Linked DNA regions of Homo sapiens: region 2 is linked to region 1. Evidence: promoter capture Hi-C in 16 types of primary human blood cells and fetal thymus (Javierre and others, 2016). All regions are on one chromosome and are shown on one strand. Each heading gives the region's core, a stretch centred on a gene start or on the middle of the fragment in contact. The rest is flanking DNA. Distances are from core to core; before and after follow the strand shown.

Evidence for each region. Contacts are between HindIII fragments. The CHiCAGO score rates a contact against its expected background, and 5 or more counts as called.
Region 2: a fragment that was not itself captured here is called in contact with the fragment with the promoter of HOXD1 in region 1 in 1 of 17 cell types (fetal thymus); the score reaches 5.1 in fetal thymus.

Annotation. Positions count from the first base shown.
Region 1 is chr2:176,185,585-176,190,018 of GRCh38, forward strand. It overlaps HOXD1 (homeobox D1), which reads left to right and starts at 3,084. Exons shown (of 2, transcript NM_024501.3): 1 at 3,084-3,869; 2 at 4,224-4,434. The coding sequence starts at 3,218. HAGLR (HOXD antisense growth-associated long non-coding RNA) reads right to left here and starts at 3,374. Exons shown (of 3, transcript NR_033979.2): 1 at 3,230-3,374. It overlaps MIR7704 (microRNA 7704), which reads left to right and starts at 3,259; the gene lies at 3,259-3,317. The HindIII fragment of the contact is 11,390 bases long and covers 1-4,434 here.
Region 2 is chr2:176,617,607-176,621,958 of GRCh38, forward strand. The region is part of intron 4 of LINC01116 (long intergenic non-protein coding RNA 1116); the gene reads right to left. Among named protein-coding and RNA genes, the nearest start is that of LINC01116, 18 kb to the right of the region's middle. RefSeq lists an enhancer at 3,307-4,352. The HindIII fragment of the contact is 485 bases long and covers 1,476-1,960 here.

The DNA of each region.
Region 1 (4,434 bases), core at 1,834-4,333:
CCTCCTGGGTTCAAGCGATTCTTCTGCCTCAGCCTCCCAAGTAGCTGGGACTACAGGCGTGTGCCACTAATTTATTTTTATTTTTATTTTTTTTAGTAGAGATGGGGTTTCACCGTGTTAGCCGGGCTGGTCTTGATCTCCTGACCTCGTGATCCACCCATCTCAGCCTCCCAATGTGCTGGGATTACAGGTGTGAGCAACCGTGCCCAGCCAGAATGTAGTTTTCTGTATGCGATTATCAAAGAAATGCTATTGGGTCTGAACAAATATTGAACACCTCTCCCTCGCTCTCACCCACAGTTGTGAAAACAAAACAAAACAAAACAGTATTTTTAAAAACTTCATTCTTTTTTAGGGCACTTTCTTCCCTCAGAAAGGCTAAATCTCCAAAATTTTACTTGATGGAGCTAGTGTGGATAGCTCATGGGTGCATTAAAGTCAAGGCCTAATTATATCATGAAGGACCCAGCCTTTGCCCCAAATGCCCAGGAGGAAAAACTTAGTCTTTGTTGCCATGAAAGCTGCCAGGACACCTAGGCAGCCTGATTTTTCTGAAACCTTAGAGAAAAGGCCCTTAATTTGAGGGGTTTTGGTCAGACTTGCCGGACAGTCAGGCTGACTCTTCTGCCCTAAACCCTGGGTTGCAGCCGGCTGGATGTCTTCCCCAAAGAGGTTTACAAAGTCATCCTTCCTTCTTGACCCATGGGGCCTCTAGGCTTTGGAGTTGTGATAGGATAAGTATCATTTGAGGGAACACTGTGAGAGCTGGGACATCTTGCAGATAAAAACTGGCTATTAAAATCTAGCCAGAGGTGGAGGAGGGGGCATTGTGAACTCAGCAGCATCTTATTTGCTGTTACTTTTGCATAAATGGCACAGGAGAGCAGTGAAGAAACGTGTCTACATTTTAAGGCTGAGCTAGCTCTGAAGAGCTCTAACATTTCCTAACTGGGGTGTTAGGGAAGAACTTTTATTTTTCTCTTCTTAAAAATTATTTAGGGCCGGGCGCGGTGGCTCACGCCTGTAATCCCAGCACTTTGGGAGGCCGAGGCGGGCGGATCACGAGGTCAGGAGATCGAAACCATCCTGGCTAACACGGTGAAACCCCGTCTCTACTAAAAATACAAAAAATTAGCCGGGCATAGTGGTGGGCGCCTGTAGTACCAGCTACTCGGGAGGCCGAGGCAGAAGAATGGCGTGAATCGGGGAGGCTGAGCTTGCAGTGAGCCGAGATCGCGCCACTGCACTTAAAAAAAAAAATTAAATAAATAAATAAATAAAAATTATTTAGGACCTTATCTGACTGGCTATAGCACAACTGAAATAGCAAAATCAAGATTGAAGGGCTATTTTCAGCACAGGTATTCCATTTCCAATCAAACTCAAGAACTCCAGCAGTGCAGGAACCACAGACCTCTTTAACTTTGTGCTGATTCCTAGGCATCCACCCTCTACTGGCTCCCCTCAACCTGGGGACATCCCTCCCCCATCCTGCAGCAACTTCGGGTCCATCAGTAGTCCACATTTTGGTAGGGCTTTGTTTATTCACAAGTCCACAACCCTGGAAGGAACTGGCTCCCTGGGCTGTGATGGCGCCTATTCTAAAGACTTCCTCAGAGTGGAAATTTAGGCAACAACAGCTCAATCGCTCTTTTATGACAAGTCAATCAGTAAAACAATGATAAAACCTCGGTTACCATAACTTAGAGGCTGTAATAGATTAACTTTTCAAGGGCACTTGATATAAGCTCTGAGTAGACTCTTTAGAGTCTTTATTCACACAGGGTTTTAGGAAACCACCCTCTTTCATAACTACTGTGTGTAAATAACCTCTATTTATCTAATTTGTAATTTTCCTACAGTCCCCTCAAAAGGGAACATTAAAAGAAATACTAAAGGAAGTTGGAAAGTTTGTCAATGTAAAGCTGGTCTTTGTAACCTTTCTACTCTTCATTTCCTGTGGCAATTGCACTTTTATTTCCCGTCTCTCTACACTCAGTAAACAAAACCATATTATCAAGGGAAAGACGTGAGCCCATTAACATTGTGAGCCCTCAGATTTCACTCACAAGAGACGATGCAGCACTTATCTGATGGAGCAGAAGCTCTAATTGCTTCGAGGTACAAGTCCATCTAAACCTCTGAGATCTCACCCGTCCCCGGTAAGCCCTTGCGCCCTCCAGACAAGCTCCTCAGTGAAAGCAAGCGCCGCACCGGTGCCTGTGCCAGTCTCCCAGAAAGGAGCATAAGGAGTGTTCCACCACCACTCTGGATTCTTTATTCCAACAACCCAGCCGGAGGGGAAAATCTGCTAAACCACCCCACAAGGCAGAAACTTTATCAAAATCTGGCACTACAACACTGGCCCTCATCACGCCGCCACAAATTGCGAGGGATAGAAGAAAGCTGCAAAGTCACGTTAAAAGGAAGCCTAGTCAAAAAGTGAAAATTTTGTCCCGCCCTAGGCACACAGCACTCACAGCATAAGATGTAGTTCCATGAGTCCTAGGAAAGGGGGAAGAAAGGAAAAAACCAAACATCTGCTCTAGGTTTAGAAGAGGGATAACATCAGCGCCAAGCAAACCGAAAGCGCAGAGGACTCAGAAGAGGGGAAGAGGAATAACTTTATCTGTCCTGGAGGTGGGCGAAGAGCAGTCTCCACCGGCCGCGCGTCACGCTCCCATTTAACCTTTTCCATGCCGCGACGCCCACACTCCGCCCTCGAGGGACTAGCCCCCCCCACGATCCAGAGCAGAAGCGGCTCGCCCCGCTGCATCCACGGGCCCTCACCCAAGCGTCCAGTCCTGCCTTTCTCCCCCCACCTCGCCCAATACCTGTCCGAGAGCAGGCGTTCTGCCCTCTCGCCCCGCCCTTGCCCAGGCAGCCCCCGGTCGCGACGGCTCTCCTCGGGGCTCGGGGGCGCTGGGCGGCGGCCCTGGGCTGCTTTGGCTAACTTGGCTGCGGGGCAGGCGCGAGGAGCGGCGCGCCGACCGGGCCGAGCGGAGAGGCCGCCCATTGGCCGGCCAGCGCCACGTGGCCGCCCCCGCCGGTATATTAGGCCACTATTTACCTCCGGCTCACTCGCCATGGGTTGGAGAGGGCAGCTCGGGTAGAGAGGGCTGGCGGAGCGGCGCAGACGGCGGCAGTCCTGCTCAGCCTCTGCCCGGCTCCGTACTCCGGCCCCGGCCTGCGCCCTCAGAAAGGTGGGGCCCGAACCATGAGCTCCTACCTGGAGTACGTGTCATGCAGCAGCAGCGGCGGGGTCGGCGGCGACGTGCTCAGCTTGGCACCCAAGTTCTGCCGCTCCGACGCCCGGCCCGTGGCTCTGCAGCCCGCCTTCCCTCTGGGCAACGGCGACGGCGCCTTCGTCAGCTGTCTGCCCCTGGCCGCCGCCCGACCCTCGCCTTCGCCCCCGGCCGCCCCCGCGCGGCCGTCCGTACCGCCTCCGGCCGCGCCCCAGTACGCGCAGTGCACCCTGGAGGGGGCCTACGAACCTGGTGCCGCACCTGCCGCGGCAGCTGGGGGCGCGGACTACGGCTTCCTGGGGTCCGGGCCGGCGTACGACTTCCCGGGCGTGCTGGGGCGGGCGGCCGACGACGGCGGGTCTCACGTCCACTACGCCACCTCGGCCGTCTTCTCGGGCGGCGGCTCTTTCCTCCTCAGCGGCCAGGTGGATTACGCGGCCTTCGGCGAACCCGGCCCTTTTCCGGCTTGTCTCAAAGCGTCAGCCGACGGCCACCCTGGTGCTTTCCAGACCGCATCCCCGGCCCCAGGCACCTACCCCAAGTCCGTCTCTCCCGCCTCCGGCCTCCCTGCCGCCTTCAGCACGTTCGAGTGGATGAAAGTGAAGAGGAATGCCTCTAAGAAAGGTAAGTCCGCGGGCCTTGGATGGGGCCACCTGGGGTTGGGGACGGAGCCTCCCCCGCGGAAATGCGCTGGGAGCGTGGTGTCGCTGCCTTTCCAGACAGCGGTTTGGGTTTTGTGGAGGAGACGCGTTCCCGGGCGAATTCCATGGAGTCTGCCTCGAGTACAGATTCGGAAAATGTGCCAGGCATTGAGAAAATTTCAGGAAGGAGCTCTCCGTGGAACTTCTCCTGGTACAAATTCTGTTCCTAGGGACCCAGGAGGGCTGCGCTGGGACTTTGATTCTAACTAGCTCCACTGCTCACCCACATTCTGTCCCCGGCCTCAGGCCTGGCTGACGCCCTGTCTTTACGTTGCAGGCAAACTCGCCGAGTATGGGGCCGCTAGCCCCTCCAGCGCGATCCGCACGAATTTCAGCACCAAGCAACTGACAGAACTGGAAAAAGAGTTTCATTTCAATAAGTACTTAACTCGAGCCCGGCGCATCGAGATAGCCAACTGCTTGCACCTGAATGACACGCAAGTCAAAATCTGGTTCCAGAACCGCAGGATGAAACAGAAGAAAAGGGA
Region 2 (4,352 bases), core at 468-2,967, 430 kb after region 1:
TGTTATTTCAGAATTATAAATTACAGTAGTTTACTTTTTTTTTTTTTTTTGAGACAGGGTCTCACTCTGTCATCCAGGCTGGAGTGCAGTGGCATGCTCACGGCTCACTGCAGCCTTGACCTCCAGGGCTCAGTTGATCCTCCCACCTCAGCCTCCCAGGTAGCTGGGACTACAGGTGTGTGCCACCATGCCCAGCTAATTTTTTGTATTTTTAGTTTTTGTAGAGATAGTGTTTCATCATGTTGCCCAGGTTGGTCTTCAACTCCTAGTCTCAAGTGATCTTCTCACCTTGGCCTCCCAAAGTGTTGGGGTTACAGGCTTGAGCCACTGTGCTTGGCCAGTAAGTTTGCATTTAATTGACACTATACAAAAGTTATGTTAGTTTATTCTCATAAATGTATTTGAAAGAAAATCCTTCATCATTTTATTAATCACAATTCTTTGTAATTACTCTCCCTCAACTCAGGAGTGCTGTGAAAATGATATTGATGACTAGAAATTGCTATGTGAAAAATATAAAGTAAAAATGTATTTGTATTTGTATATCACAAATCAACCAAACCGATGGTAGAGAGGTTAGTGGTGATACATATGAAGCATTTGCTGGGAATTGAGAAGGTGCCTATTATAAAATTAATGCGTTTGTGTCATATAATTTACTGACCAAACCCAGAGACTCTGAGAGTTAATGGTAGTGCTGTAATATTTATTCTGGGACAAAAAGCATAAATAGGACTGTCAGGAACAAATCAGGACATATGGGCACCTCGTTACATTAAATGAGAACCGTTTCTTATGCAGGTAACCCACAGTATAGAAGTAATGGATGGGCTGTCCTCACAGGTTTATAGGAAGAAAGGGACCCTCATCCTTAATGGAAGTCCCACGAGTTAGAACCAGCAGTTACAAGATTCTGTCTTTTCTACTGGCCACTCTGTCTCGGGTGGATGAAACCTTTCAGCAGTCCCCTTCCCGATGGAGCAACTGACGAGCCCTGTGAGTGGAAGCTCTATCACTTTGCCCATCAGCTCACAAACTCAGAAAACTGCTTGGATGGATCTGTTCTGTCGGGTGTGGGGAGAGTCCTTCCTTGATCAATGCTTAATGAGCCAACTCTGTCATCTTCCTTTCTGTGCCCTCCATCAGAGAGGTTGGAAAGAGGGAGGAGCTATAGAGCTGCAGCTTACTAAAGCCACTAGCCTCTGTCATTGTTCTGTTTGTTCCTCCTCGCCTTGGGAAAAAACTCAAAGCTATATCATCTTGATAAGAGCTTTCTATTAAAAACCAGTGCATACATTATTATTATCTCTTGAGAGATGAAGAAATGGAGGCTCAGAGACATTAAGAGATTTGCCCAGAGGGAGTATCATGGTGGAGACTTCCGAGGCCCGGGCTGGGGCATTTTCCACCGTAACACAGTGCTACATGGAAACACCTCATAAAGACTGCATTGCTTTAATTTAATTTACAATATAAGCTTGAGTGTTTCCAAAGAAATCAAATGTGATGTTCACGCTTTGTTTCCTACAGCGGTGGTTACCCTGTATCATTCCGTAGGCTTGCTGTCCTTGGGCAAATGTGACGCTGCACACCTAATAATCACAGCCAGTCTAGCGGAGGCCTGTGCTGCCGGAGAGCTCCGTGGATGCCGACCAGCATTATTTAAGTTTTCATTCAAAATCTCCTTTAGGGTGACTTCTGTGCACCTGAACTTCCCGTTCAAGAAGATCAACAAATGGCTGAAGACAGATTTTTCAGCCAGAGGAAAGAATTATTACCTTACCATCAGTCTAATGAAAACAGAGGTGAAATACCAACCTGCAGTAGATAAACAGCACACCGAGCCATCCATCACATTCAGCCTTACTGAGCAGAACACCCTAACCGATTTCGCCTGATTTTCCTGCGCCTCTTGCAGACAGGCATTCACAATATCAGAGAGCTGAGACATTTTCCAGCAAGCTTTCGTCAGAATAAAAACCTGATCAGGAATCCTTGAAGCCATCCCGTCTCCCAATCTAAATTCCCCTTTCTCTCTAGCTATGAACACCAATAGCTTATTAAAGACTTGCTTCTCACTCGCAAGCTCTGCCAAGCTGGCATTCCCTTCCAGGAGCTGGTTTCTATTATTATTGGATCTACACAGCACCTCCAACGACAACTCTCTTTTTCAGAACCTTCTAGTTGATAATTAGCATATCCATTCATTCAGCAGAAATACCTGCCCATTACTAGGCACTCCGGGTATAGAGATACAAGGCCCCTGTCTTCCAGGAGCTGAAAGTCAAAGGAAAAAGGCATCTTGCCTATCTATAGACCTTTTCTTTCATTTTTCACATATATCATCACTCATTTTGCCTTAGCAATGGTGAATCAAAGACAGCAATGCACATGTTGTTAACAATGGCCGTTGAGGAACATGTTTGAAGGGCTCTAACACATTATAAATTGTGCTAATGTCTGTTGATCTTTGCAATAAGGAATCATAATAGAAACAACAAAACTATGAAATAGATTTGTGGAATGCTTATGATGTGAAAGGCGCTAATCATATTTTGTTTAATACTTATGGAAATCCCACAAGATCGTAGTATCCCCAATACACAAATGAAGAAATGGAGCCCAGCCTGAGAGTATACATCTAGTGAGTAGCAAAGCCACTATTTGGACCCAGGTATTTTTCAGGGTATTCAGAGATGGTCATACTGTATCTGGTTAATTCACAAGAAACTAATAAGTAAAAGAAAATTTTCACTATCCATAGTGGAGGATATCCCTTTCTGGGGTCCAGAATACCTTGCTCCTATCCATGGAACACCTTCCTCATATCACATTTTTAATCAGAAATCTGCAAAGGGAGAGCGAATAGTATCAGAGGATGTTCCATACAGACTACGGTAAGGACAGATGAGATGACACTTCAAGTCATACACACATGTGTACACACACAAACACACATACATGCACACGGACATGATCTCTGGTGACTGGAGTGATTCCCCCTTTCACTTCCATCACCATCTCTCTAGGACAATTCTACACAAGTCACAAAACTCTGCCTATATGATTACTTATTTTGTGTTCCAGTGCAGATCATCCAAGGTGAGCTTTTGTCCTTAGCCTGGGATAGGCCATATTCCCAGAGTAAGTATGCCTTGTAAATTAGCTCCTTAGTACACTAATGAGTATGACATTTTTAAAAAAGCAAGAGGTCATGTGATAGAGTTCTATGGTTTAAAACATGTTTAAGAAATGCAAATGTAAACAAAGTGAAATCGGCACTGTGACTATGGAAGATTGTCCCAAACAGATTTGAGAAGCACTGTAGGACTCATGCTCCTTAGGACACTGGGCTGTACTCCTGCTTCTTCTGAAATCACATTTTGCAAAAGGTAAAGAAACATTCTATCTCCTTCAATTATGCATGTATTTAAGTAACTTAATGCTTAGAGCACAACTACTTGCCCTAACTTCCAAGCTTCGGAGAGATACCTCCATGTCACCCCCAAGAACCATAAGATGTATCACTTATTTATTTCTATTGCCTCTAACACTTACACTTAGTAGAGAAATAAACTTTTAAGTAATCATCTTTTTACTGGAATCACCGTGTCCAGTCATATTAGTATCTCACCCAATGTGGCTGCTCCATAAAATGTCAATAAGGAGTTGAGATTTCAGACTTTTCTTCTGTGGCTGTGAAACTGGGATGTAATCCAGCTGTTGGGTCAAAGACAAACATCACCTGTACTGTTTCAGATCCATCATGAGTATGATGTGCAAAGATAAGGTTACACCCAGTCAGGTGCTGACACATAGGAAATCGAATCGACCCAAGGGCCACGTTAATTAAAGCAGAGCTCTGCCAAGCAGGGTTTATCAACTGAAGGGGCCGAAGACTCCCTAAATGTGGGCAGCTCAAGATCAAACCCAGTGAACCCTTGCCCTTGGCTGTGAGGCACTCTGAGGACTCGTTTGAAGTACAACCTGAACTTTGCTGGCACTGACCCAAATGCCTACACAAGGCTTTGATCATGTAGCTCTGCGTGCCACAGGATTTCAGTCCAAACTGAGGCTCACTAACAACGACAGAAGGTGGAGATTAGAGGAAAGCAAGAAAGACCCAAAACTTCAAGCACATGCCAAGGAGATAACACTGTGTTGAGAGGCAGTCAGTGCCTCATGAACAATGCTTTGAGCTGCAGTTAATAACAGAGGCATCAACACCTCCCTCACAGATACTATCTTTTCACATTGCCCTCTTGTGTTTTGTATGTTAACATTTATTTCTCTAGTGCATTTATGCTGTCTATGCCATGTGATGTGCTATGACAATCAGAGAATTTTGATGT